Regions from separate parts of the Homo sapiens genome. Here all the other regions are linked to region 2. Evidence: promoter capture Hi-C in human tissues and cell types (Jung and others, 2019). All regions are on one chromosome and are shown on one strand. Each heading gives the region's core, a stretch centred on a gene start or on the middle of the fragment in contact. The rest is flanking DNA. Distances are from core to core; before and after follow the strand shown.

Region 1 (2,709 bases), core at 55-2,554, 560 kb after region 2:
TTCATCATCCTAGAAATGCAAATCCAAGGTCAGGCACAGTGGCTCACACCTGTAATCCCAGCACTTTGGGAGGCCGAGGTGGGCAGATCACAATCTCAATCAAGAGATCGAGACCATCCTGGCCAACATGGTGAAACCCCATCTCTACTAAAAATACAAAAATTAGCTGGGCATGGTAGCACACACCTGTAGTCCCAGCTACTCAGCAGGCTGAGGCAAGAGAACTGCTTGAACCTGGGAGGCGGAGGTTGCAGTGAGCTGAGATCATGCCACTGCACTCCAACCTGGTGACAGAGTGAGACTCCATCTCAAGAAAAAAAAAAAAGAAAGAAAGAAATGCAAATCCAACCAGAGTGATTAAAATAAGCCTGAGGAAAAGACAATACAAATTGAGGATGTGGAGCAATTAGAATGCTCCTACACTGTTGTCATTGCTGTTGGACTTTTTTTTTTTTTTTTTTTTTTGATACATGGTCTCACTTTGTTGCCTAGGCTGGAGTGCATTGGCGCGATCAAAGCTCACTGCAGCCTCCATTTCCTGGACTCAAGTGATCCTCCTATCACAGCTTCCTGAGTAGCTGGAACTACAGGTGCACGCCACCATGCCCAGCTAATATTTTAATTTTTTGTAGCGATGGGGTCTCACTATATTGCCCAGGCTGGTCTCAAACTTCTGGCCTCAAGCAATCCTCCTGCCTTGGCTTCCCAAAGTGTTGGGATTACAGGCATGAGCAATAGTGCCTGGCCCATATGCTGTTATTTAAAATGAACAGCAACTTTGAAAAACTGTTTAGCAGTATTCTCCAAATCTGAGGTTATACATACCTAAATTCAATAATTTTTCTCTTAAATATTTGTTCAACATAAATACCTTATGTGCAACAAAAACTCACATACCAGAATGTTCTAAGCAGCACTATTCACCAATATTCAAAAACTGAGAGTCACACAAATGTCCTGGATGAACTTTCAAACCCAAGTGCCCTGCTTCCCAAAACCAGCGTGTACACCCCCATCCCCAAGGGATACACCACATCAGTCATGTACTTGAAGCTCTGACTTCCAGTTCACTCTTCATTTGGCCCCTACAGATTTGCTTTACTTTCTTATGAGCTCAGTTTTGCACTGAAGAGGCTGCATGTGACTGTTCATTCAGAACGTCAGGAGGTTTTGCAGCAGAAGTATTACAAGATTACATAGTTCCTGATATGCCTCATCATCTTTCCATGGCCCTGTCTAGCTGTGAAGATTCTTCCTGGCCCTGGTTTTGCAGACTAAAGATAATATTTTGTTGTAAAGCGGAGAGAGCAGAGAGAAAAAAGGAAGATACTTTCACTTAACACCGAAGGGTCGGGGGAGCATGGTTGGGGTAGTGTCTCTCCCCTAGTTCATCTGCTGAGAGGCTGCAGTGAACCTTGTCCACATCCCACTGGAGAACCAATGCCCTGCCTGGCTGGAAATCAACACCCTGGCTGTCCTAAGGGCTCATCTCTGGTTTGATGAGGTTGACAACTATTTCTAGAGGCTCCCATCACCCAGCTGAGCAGCTGTCCACCTCCCTCAGGTCTCTGGGTGGCACTGGGCAGGGCTGGAATCTAGGCTGCCAGGCACCCCTGACTGAGATGTGCTGAGAGGGTCAAGCCTGGAGAATCCCTCCCACCTTCTGCTTTGCCCCTGGCTCCTGTATGGATGCCCTTCAAGGTCACGCCTCTCTCTGATAGAGGACTCAGTTTAATTACCAGGTGCTGCTTGGACTTCTCGTGTCCTAATTTTCAAATAGCCCACAAGGCCCCAGGCCGCATGTAAACAGGCAGGGAAAATAGTAGCTCCTCCTGAGTGCTGTGCATGGCCCCAGAGGCCGGGATGACCAGTTTTCTGCTGACCACTTCTTTGTGGTTGAGTAAAAAGGCCTTCGCATTTCGGGATAGAACTGAGGTTCCTTAGGATCTACTGTCATCTTCAACCTGTGGCTAAAGAACAAGGGCTGGTGAACAGGGAGATGCTCAGGTCATAACAACAAAAACAGGTGACAGTGATGAAGTATCCTACATGCCAGGCACGGTACACAGGGCTTTACATGGGTTAGGTCATTTAATTCTCAAAACAACCCGAAAGATAGAGATATAGACATACATACATATGTATATATGCGTATATATACACACATATATTATAAATAAATATATATTATAAATTAATGTATAATTATATATTATATATAATCCCATTTGTGATTATTATAATCATATAATTATATATACACATATTATAAATAAATATATAATTATATTTTTTATATATATATATAAAATTCCCATTTTTCTGATGAGCAACTGAGACTGCCAGAGGTATGTGACTTGCTCCAAGTGACACAGTTAAGTGACAAACCCAGGACTGAGCCCCAGAAAATCTGGCTCACATCCTTGACCACGGTTCTAGGTGTGATCTTTTGTCGCTGATCCCAGATTCTACGTCACCTCTAGCACATGTCAGGCACTGCCCCTGGCGGACCCTTTCCACCCTTCCTGCTTTGCTGTCTCAGTGGACCCTTCAGTAGGTGTGTCAGCGGGAGGGGTTCACAGAACACCTCTTTGGCGGGATCTCCAAAAGCCCCTCCTCATTTCCCTCTTCTTGACCACCAACGTGTCCCTCTCCCTGCCCTTTTAGCTGGGGTCTCCTGCGTGCCTGGGCCTTTCTGTCTCCTTCTTA
Region 2 (2,752 bases), core at 193-2,692:
GGATGGATGGATGGATGGATGGATGGATGGATGGATGGATGGATGGATAGGGATTTTGGAGGAAGAGGAGTGAGCAGTCACTGAAAAGAATAGAAAAATAATGAGGCTTGCTCCCTCTCCCTAGTCAGAAGAGCCAGTAAGCAGCTTAGAGCTTTAATCCCACAAATTGTCAGGCAGCTGGCGCAAGAACAGGGAAAAAGAGAGAGAGAGAGAGAGAGAGACCCTGTCTGTGGTAGGTTATGGTCATCAGTGAAAAAGAACAAAAACCTTTGTTTTAAAACTCTCCTCAAAACAGATGATTGGCTAGAGGGTGCGGCACAAAGGAACTTGTCAGGGTGATGGAGACATTCTGTATCTGGATTGAGCAATGCAAGAACCTGGGTAAAGACACAGTCATGGTAACAGCTGTATACATCTGTTGAAAACTCATCAAACTTATCATATTTAGAAAGGGTACATTTTGCTTCATGTAAAGTATGCCTCAATAAAGTGTACTTGATTTTAAAATCAGGATAAAGGAAAAAAACATTGATCTTGGATAATGGGCAGGGGTTGGGGAGAAGGTCTTAATTATCATCATATCCTTTTAAAAACGTTTTTCAAGTGTGTGATGCTCTGATGACATTCTTAAGACACAGCAAGGCAAAGCAGTATCCCAAATGAGAGAGTGAGCATTCCAATAAATATTTTCTGTAAGACACTGATATGTCTATGACTATTTGCTAAATTTAAAAATCAACTTGGACCATATTTACTCCCTTAAAGTCTAATAGACGACTAATTTCTTCTATGTTCAGAACAAATATGTTGCTACTTTAAGAACAGCATACATAGGTGTGGTCGGCCCTCTGTGTCTAAGGCTTCTGCATCTGTGGATTCAACCAACAATGGACTGAAAATATTCCAAAAATAAAATAAAATTAATGAAACAACAACAAAAATAAAACAAATAAAAAAATGCCAGGTAACAACTACTTACAAAGCATTTACATAGTATTAGGTGTTAGAAGTAATCAAGAGATGATTTAAATCACCATCTATGATTGGCTGATATGCATAGGTTATATGCAAATACTATGCCACTATATATAAAGGACTTGAACATTCGCAAATTTTGGTATCTGCAGGGGATTCTGGAACCAAACCCCATGGATACCAAGAGACAACTATATATAAAATACTGAAAGAGGCATGGAGAGTGATTTTCAGGCCTCTACCTAAAGCCCTGAATATTAGAAATTACTGAATTTCTTCTCAGGAAGGAAATTACGCCATAAACCAGTGTTGCCACACACCCAGAGAACAAGATGACCCGACGCCCCAGCCTGGTCATGCCACATGAGCTGAGCAGTGGGTAGGCCACTGAGCCAGTGATAGAAATCACAAATTACAAAACGTCAGAGTACTTTCTGGAAATAAGCCTTCCTCTCCAGGGAACAACGCATTTGACACTTGACTGGGATACACTACCGGATCCTCCGAGGGTGATGGTTCTCAAGAAGGCAGAAGCAATGGTGACCAATAGACCTCCTTAAAGGCTGAGCCGCTGGGCACCTTCCTACTCCTCTCGACCGTGCTAGGATGACTGCAGCAGAGTCCCCGAGTCCTTTGATGCAAGGGTCTAGGTGAGTTCGAAGGAGAGCCATACTAGGCCAGGCAGAAAGGCCCATGGTGATGGCTGTCCACCCTGGTCAGGGGAATTCTAGGTTCAGGCCATGCGGCAAGGTCACCTTGAGGGACATGCTTTGCTCTAAGCTCAGCTTAAGTGTGTCTGAACCCCCCTCACTTCTTCCAACTGCAGAAGCACATGGAGAAGGGGGAGAAAGGGTTGCCCACCTCCTAAAATGAGGGCAGCGTGGTGAAGAGCCCCATCATGCCCCACCAAGGTCCTGTGTGCAGGGCAGGGCAGTGCCTATCCAGAAGGCCAGACCTCTAACTGCTGCTCTGTAGGACGTCCGGGCCTCACATGCAGGCTCCTATAAGCTGGCTGTCTTGGCAAGAGGGCCCTGGTACAGCACTGTGTTCATCACAGAAAACCACACCGTACATAATTTGTAACAGACAGAAATGCATTTGGCTCATGGTTCTGGAGACTGGGAACCCAGGATGGAGGGGCCACATCTGGCAAGGGCCTTCTTGCCATGACATGGTGGAAGGTATCACAAGGTTGGGGAAGGAGGGGTGGGCGGGGCGGGAAGAGAGAGAGAGAGAACAAGAGAGAGAGAATCCATTCATAAGGGTGGAGCCCTCATGACTAAACACCTCCCATTAGGTCCCACCTCCCAACACTGTTGCTTTGGGGATTAAGTTTCCAGCTGGCTTTTTTCAAACCTTAGCAACCACCAAACAGACAAGCCCTTCGGCCTGTCCTGGAGGGCGTTGAATGGCATGGCCTGGAGCTCAACCAGGAGAACCGTGCTCAGGAGGAAGAGACCAGAAGGATAACTCAAAAAGTTCTGAGAAGTTCCTAAGACCACCTGAAGAGAAGGAGCCTGCTGCCAATGGTGTGGACACCGCAGTGTGCTTGAGGAGACTTCAGAAACGAGAACTGGTAGGAGAAGGGGGTTGCACAGACCCTTTCCTCAGTTAGGCACCCTCTGCTCCCACCCTCATGCCCACCCTGACATCAGGCTAAGGGAGAGGCGCTCATCCATTGACAGGTGCCAGGCTGTCCTGGGCCTGGCAAACCCTGGCCTTGTACACCCACTCTCCACACGTCTGCCCCCACCCTCCCAGGGGCAGGGCCGGGCTT
Region 3 (2,700 bases), core at 81-2,580, 980 kb after region 2:
TGTTTTTTTGTTTGTATGTTTATTACCCAGCGTTCCTACAGCGTATTGTAAACATGTTAAGTATAGGGACCCTGCTTGTGTTGATAAATTTTTTTTTTTTTGAGACAGAGTTTCGTTCTTGTTATCTACCCAGGCTGGAGTGCAGTGGTGCGATCTTGGCTCACTGCAACCTCCGCCTCCCCAGTTCAAGCGATTCTCCTGTCTCAGCCTCCTGAGTAGTTGGGATTACAGGTGCATGCCCCCACACCCAGCTACTTTTTGTATTTTTAGTAGAGACGGGGTTTCATCATATTGTTCAGGCTGGTCTCGAACTCCTGACCTTAGGTGATCCACCCACCTCGGCCTCCCAAAGTGCTGGGATTACAGGCGTGAGCCACCGCGCCCCGCCGTGTTGACATCTTAATACCAGTGCTGAGGACAGTACTTAGCACATAGTGGATTTTCAGTACAATTGATTGATTGACATTAAAAGACCAATTTCTGAGTATATCTTACGTTTTTTGTTTAATATACAGTCAATATTAGTGACGTGAACAATATCATGGAGGTGATACTTTATGGCTCTTTGGGAAGTTTATTGGTGTTTTCATCTGTCTACAATGATAACGGAGAACTGAGCTCTGTTGGTTAGCCTAATGCACTCTCCTCTGAATTTCACATGTTGAAACTGTCATCTCTGCCAATATAAGAAAACCAACAGATAACAAGCATACTAAAGTATAGAACTTAGTTTTTTTAGTGAGACACTTAGTTTACTTAAGTGGAATGTTTTTGTAAATGCAGTGGTTTTTTTTTTTTTTTTTCTGTTTACAGCCATCTCAATCAGTGACCACACTGCCCTTGCTCAATTCTGCAAAGAGAAGAAAATTGAATTTGTAGTTGTTGGACCAGAAGCACCTCTGGCTGCTGGTAAAGTTTGTTTCTGTTTATTGTTACAGTATATTCAGTGCAAACAGAAGCTTAGGGATCATCTAATCCAATTCATTTTACAGATGAGAATTTGTAATATTATCTTGGAAAAAGAGCTTCCACTCTCGAAATTTATGGAGTCTAGATTTTTTTTCCCAAGCATCAGTTATATGATGAGTTAGAGATCAAATTTGCAGCCATGGAAAACATTTTATATGTCTTTATTCTGCTGTATTCTGGTGTGTGTTTAATAATCCATATATGCAAATATAACAACTTTTGATAGATTTGAATAACATGTTAATAGCATTTTATCTCTATCCAGTAGACAACATGAAAAAGTTAGTTATCCTCTGCCACCAGTCATCTGCCTTGTCTAGATGTAGATATAGTCTGATACTAATTCGTCTTCAGGCTGAAAAGCCCCTGGGGAGACCTTGGTTCACCTAAGGCTACTGTTTTCATCAATAGGGATTGTTGGGAACCTGAGGTCTGCAGGAGTGCAATGCTTTGGCCCAACAGCAGAAGCGGCTCAGTTAGAGTCCAGCAAAAGGTTTGCCAAAGAGTTTATGGACAGACATGGAATCCCAACCGCACAATGGAAGGCTTTCACCAAACCTGAAGAAGCCTGCAGCTTCATTTTGAGGTAGGTAAATGGTTGTCTGTGAAGGACAGTTGTTTAGTTTTGATATTTAAATACACAGGTCAGTGGCCAGGCACAGTAGCTCACCTGTAATCCCAGCACTTTGGGAGGCCAAGGCAGGTGAATCACTTGAGCTCAGGAGTTAGAGACCAGCCTGGGTACCATGGTAAAACCCTGTCTCTACAAAAAATACAGAAAAAAAAAAGCCGGGCATGATGGTGTGCACCTGTAGTCCCAGCTCCTCTAAAGGCCAAGGTGGGAGGATCACTTGAACCCAGGAGGCGGAGGCTGCACTGAGCCAAGATTGTGCCACTGCACTGCAGCCTGGGTGACAGAGTGAGACCCTGTCTCAAAAAAATTAAATAAATATACAGGTCACTTCTGTGTTGAAAATGTAATGCTAGGTCTTTAGGCTGTCTCAAGATGTAGTAAGATAATTAAGGAAAAAACTTTCTCAATAAATATTATGTGGGTTGTCGTTTTCCAGAACCAAAATAAAATGGGATCCTATGCATACAGAGTTTATATGATCTTGTGGCCTTGCAGGAAGATGACATTTTTAATAAAATCTGAGTAGTTCCTCAGGGGAAAAATACACTTGGTTCTGCAGTTGTGCGCTCTTCACAGCCATGTTTTTGGTTTTTGGTTCCCCGCCCCCCACCACCACCCCCCAACCTGAGACGGGGCCTCTCTCTGTCACCCAGGCTGGAGTGCAGTGGCGTGATCTTGGCTCACAGCAGCCTCTGCTTCCTGGACTCAAGTGATCCTCCCACCTCAGCCTCCCAAGTAGCTGGGACAATAGGCACACACCACTACTCCCAGCTAGTTTTTATATTTTTTGTAGAGACGGAGTTTTACCATGTTTCCCAGGCCGGTCTCAAACTCTTAAGCTCAAGAGATCCGCCTCTCTCTGCCTCCCAAAGTGCTGGGATTACAGGCATGAGCCGTAACACTAGGCCTCACGGTCAGATTGACAAACGCAGTGGCATCTTACAACATAAAGAACATTGATTTTTTTTGTCATAAATAATTAACCAGAGTGAGTAATCATCACTTGGTCATCTGCCACCACTATTGCCATTTTATTTTATTTATTTATTTATTTATTTTTATTTTTATTTATTTATTTATTTTTTTTTTTTTGAGTC
Region 4 (2,700 bases), core at 164-2,663, 660 kb after region 2:
GGCTGCTCCCTGGGAGTCCTATTCCACAGGAGTCCTTAAGCCGACGTTGAACCCGGCATGTACCAGGGCAACCACATATGGTGGTGCGTTTTGCAGAGTGCAAAAAGGAGCCATATCTAAGGAGTGACACTTGCACCCTGGACATCCTGAACTGCATATTTAATAACAGTCAAACACCTTGAGAAAGGGGCACCTTTTTGAGTTTGCATCAATGCTTCCTAAGTATTAATGGTGGTCCTGCAGCTAACAACCCACCCTGTACTCCTCCAACAGCGGCGAGCCCTGCTGCGTCTTTCCTGGATGTTAAGACTATCAGACAAGATGGTTTCACACCCGTTTGGTGTGGTGGTTGCCAGACTACCACAGCACTCTCCAAACTGCAGGTCCATCTCTGCAAATCCCTGTCTCCCAATATGGCATCTTCCCATGGACGTGGACAAAAGGCCTGCTGAGCAGCAGGAGCGCCGGGCTCCGCATCTCCCCATAGTTCTGGATGAGGTGGCCAGGGCCCTTCTGGGAGGACTGACAAGATGAGGAGGCATCACTCAGGTCAGGGGCTTTTGTGGGGGCCTGGGAGGAAACGTTGCCATTCTCAGTGACAGGTTTGTCTCAGGGTAACATATGGCAGGAATGACTCGAGACAGCAGCCAGATGGCCCCCCATTTCCAGATGCCAACACTGCGGGCCAGGAGGGCGGCGTGGCTGGCTCCATGGCACCTCCTGGTTGGTGGCTGAGCTGCAGCTGCTCTGAGTAGAGCGTGGACTCCAGACTCTCAGTTCACATGACTCCATCCATCAACTGCTCAGGGACTCACTTGCCCTTGGCTAAGTGATCTCTGTCCCTCTGTGGGAATGACTCAATGTTGGCCATGGATAAGCAACGAACCGTCTCTGCGGTCGCAATCTCCTATAGCATTTGCCATCCAGATGCTCCTCAAACATCAGAAAGTTTCTTGGGCTCAGAATCAGGACATAGACCTCCTTGACGGAACCCTCCCCTCTCCCTCCGTCATCGCCCCCTGCCGTGCCCCCTGCCCCACCAGCTCCCTTACCTCTGTGACCAGCTGCAGGTCATTCACATAGTTCTCCTCGGTGACAATGAGCTCGTGGATGTATCCTTGTCGCTTTCTTTCAGTTGGGGTCAACATATCCAAGAGATGTAAGTCTGAACACCCTGGAAAACACAACCATTTGGGAGAACTTAGCACAGTCTGGGGAAGCCCACACAACTTCACACGGAAGATCCTCGTGGCTGCTGGGTCCTGAGGGCTTGCTCCAGTCCAGTGGGGTCATGGGCTGAAATGTGTCCTCCCCAGTAATATGTGGAAGCCCTACCCCCTGGTACCTGTGAACGTTACCTTATTTGGAAATAGTCTTTTCATATATAATCAAATTAAGATAAAGTCATACTCAGGGTTGGGTCCTGACCCTATATGATCAGTGTCCTTATGAGAAGAAGACAGAGACAGACAGGCAGAACCTGGAGTGATGTGTTTCCAAACCAAGACACACCCCGAGCCCTCAGAGTGAGGCTGGCACCTGCCAGCATCTTCCATTTTAGACTTCCGGCCTCCAGGAATGTATGGCAATAAATTCTTATTGTTTTAAGTCCCCCCGTTTGTGGTCGTTTGTTAGGGCACCCTAGAAACTGATACAGGCGGCACACTCCTGCTTCATCAGAAACACGAAAATAATGTGAAAACAAAACACTCAATGACGATTGGCCAAAACTCTGGAGGGCTCACACCATGTCAGGTGGTGAACTGCATTTAATGCTCAAGTATTATACTAGAATTATCCCCATTTCACAGACGAGGACACCGAGGTTTACACAGGTTGACTGGCCCCAGGTCTCTCAGCTTGGAAGTGGTGAAGGCAAGAGCCAAACCCTGAGACTTGGGCTGCAGAGGCTGTGCTCTATCCCCGAGCTCCAGGAGGCCATGGGTTATCCATGTCGAGGTTGGTTTGTGGAGGATGAGGTGGCTGTGCTGAGGCTCTGATGGTCCTGGGGACCAGGCAGATGCAGGGTGCCTCCAGACAGCACTGGGCACACTCTCCTGGACAAAGCTGCTGCCTGGCCCCTGGGGCAGCTGAGCAGCATGCTTGCCACAGAGAGGGTAGTCCTTCCCACTGCAGAGAGCCTGGCACAAGACCATCATGGAGGCCAAGGCTGCCCGACGGGAAGGGCCACTCCACTGCCCTGAGATGGTGCCTGCACTGGAAGTGGGGCTCACTCATGACTCTGCCCACTTAGCTTGTTATTTGGGGTTTTGTTTGAACATTTGAGCCTCCTGCCCCAGACACACTGGAATGAGCAGGAGGGAGGCTTGGTTCTTGGGAGCATCCCATGTGCAGGCCTGGACCCACCTCTCTTTTTTATCAGAGGTTCTTTATTTAATCACAGAAGCCAGACTTGGAAGACAGACCCAGAGGTGTCCCGAATGTAGGTGGGAGAGTCCGGGCTGAATCCCCTTTACTTGTTCTTCCCATCCCTTCTGTTCCCCTCAAGGGGGCACAATGGAGCACAGTGCAAAACCCCCTGCTGGGGACCAGTGGTTGTCAAAGCGTGGTCCCCAGGCTGGCAGCATCAGCGTCACCTAGGAGCTTGCTAGAGATGCCCCGGCTGAAGTGACTCTGGAGTTGGGGGCTGGGTATCTGTGATGTAACAAGCTCTCCAGAGGATTGTTTTTTGGCGCACTA

The links. The method cuts DNA at HindIII sites, captures the fragments that hold promoters and counts their contacts. A contact is called where the count stands out against the background at its distance.
Region 1: a contact is called between a fragment that was not itself captured here and the fragment with the promoter of KCNE1 in region 2, in 1 of the 25 tissues and cell types used here (dorsolateral prefrontal cortex).
Region 3: a contact is called between a fragment that was not itself captured here and the fragment with the promoter of KCNE1 in region 2, in 1 of the 25 tissues and cell types used here (spleen).
Region 4: a fragment that was not itself captured here is called in contact with the fragment with the promoter of KCNE1 in region 2 in 1 of the 25 tissues and cell types used here (lymphoblastoid cells).

Annotation. Positions count from the first base shown.
Region 1 is chr21:33,950,385-33,953,093 of GRCh38, reverse strand. All of the region lies in intron 2 of LINC00649 (long intergenic non-protein coding RNA 649), which reads right to left. Among named protein-coding and RNA genes, the nearest start is that of LINC00649, 21 kb to the right of the region's middle. The HindIII fragment of the contact is 6,850 bases long and covers 1-2,709 here.
Region 2 is chr21:34,510,900-34,513,651 of GRCh38, reverse strand. It overlaps KCNE1 (potassium voltage-gated channel subfamily E regulatory subunit 1), which reads left to right and starts at 1,442. Exons shown (of 4, transcript NM_000219.6): 1 at 1,442-1,625; 2 at 2,337-2,551. The HindIII fragment of the contact is 8,709 bases long and covers 1-2,752 here.
Region 3 is chr21:33,533,434-33,536,133 of GRCh38, reverse strand. It overlaps GART (phosphoribosylglycinamide formyltransferase, phosphoribosylglycinamide synthetase, phosphoribosylaminoimidazole synthetase), which reads left to right. Exons shown (of 22, transcript NM_000819.5): 3 at 814-909; 4 at 1,381-1,555. Among named protein-coding and RNA genes, the nearest start is that of GART, 7.3 kb to the left of the region's middle. The HindIII fragment of the contact is 3,274 bases long and covers 1-2,700 here.
Region 4 is chr21:33,855,210-33,857,909 of GRCh38, reverse strand. It overlaps ITSN1 (intersectin 1), which reads right to left. Exons shown (of 40, transcript NM_003024.3): 30 at 1,053-1,174. Among named protein-coding and RNA genes, the nearest start is that of ATP5PO, 59 kb to the left of the region's middle. RefSeq lists an enhancer at 1-389. The HindIII fragment of the contact is 7,666 bases long and covers 1-2,700 here.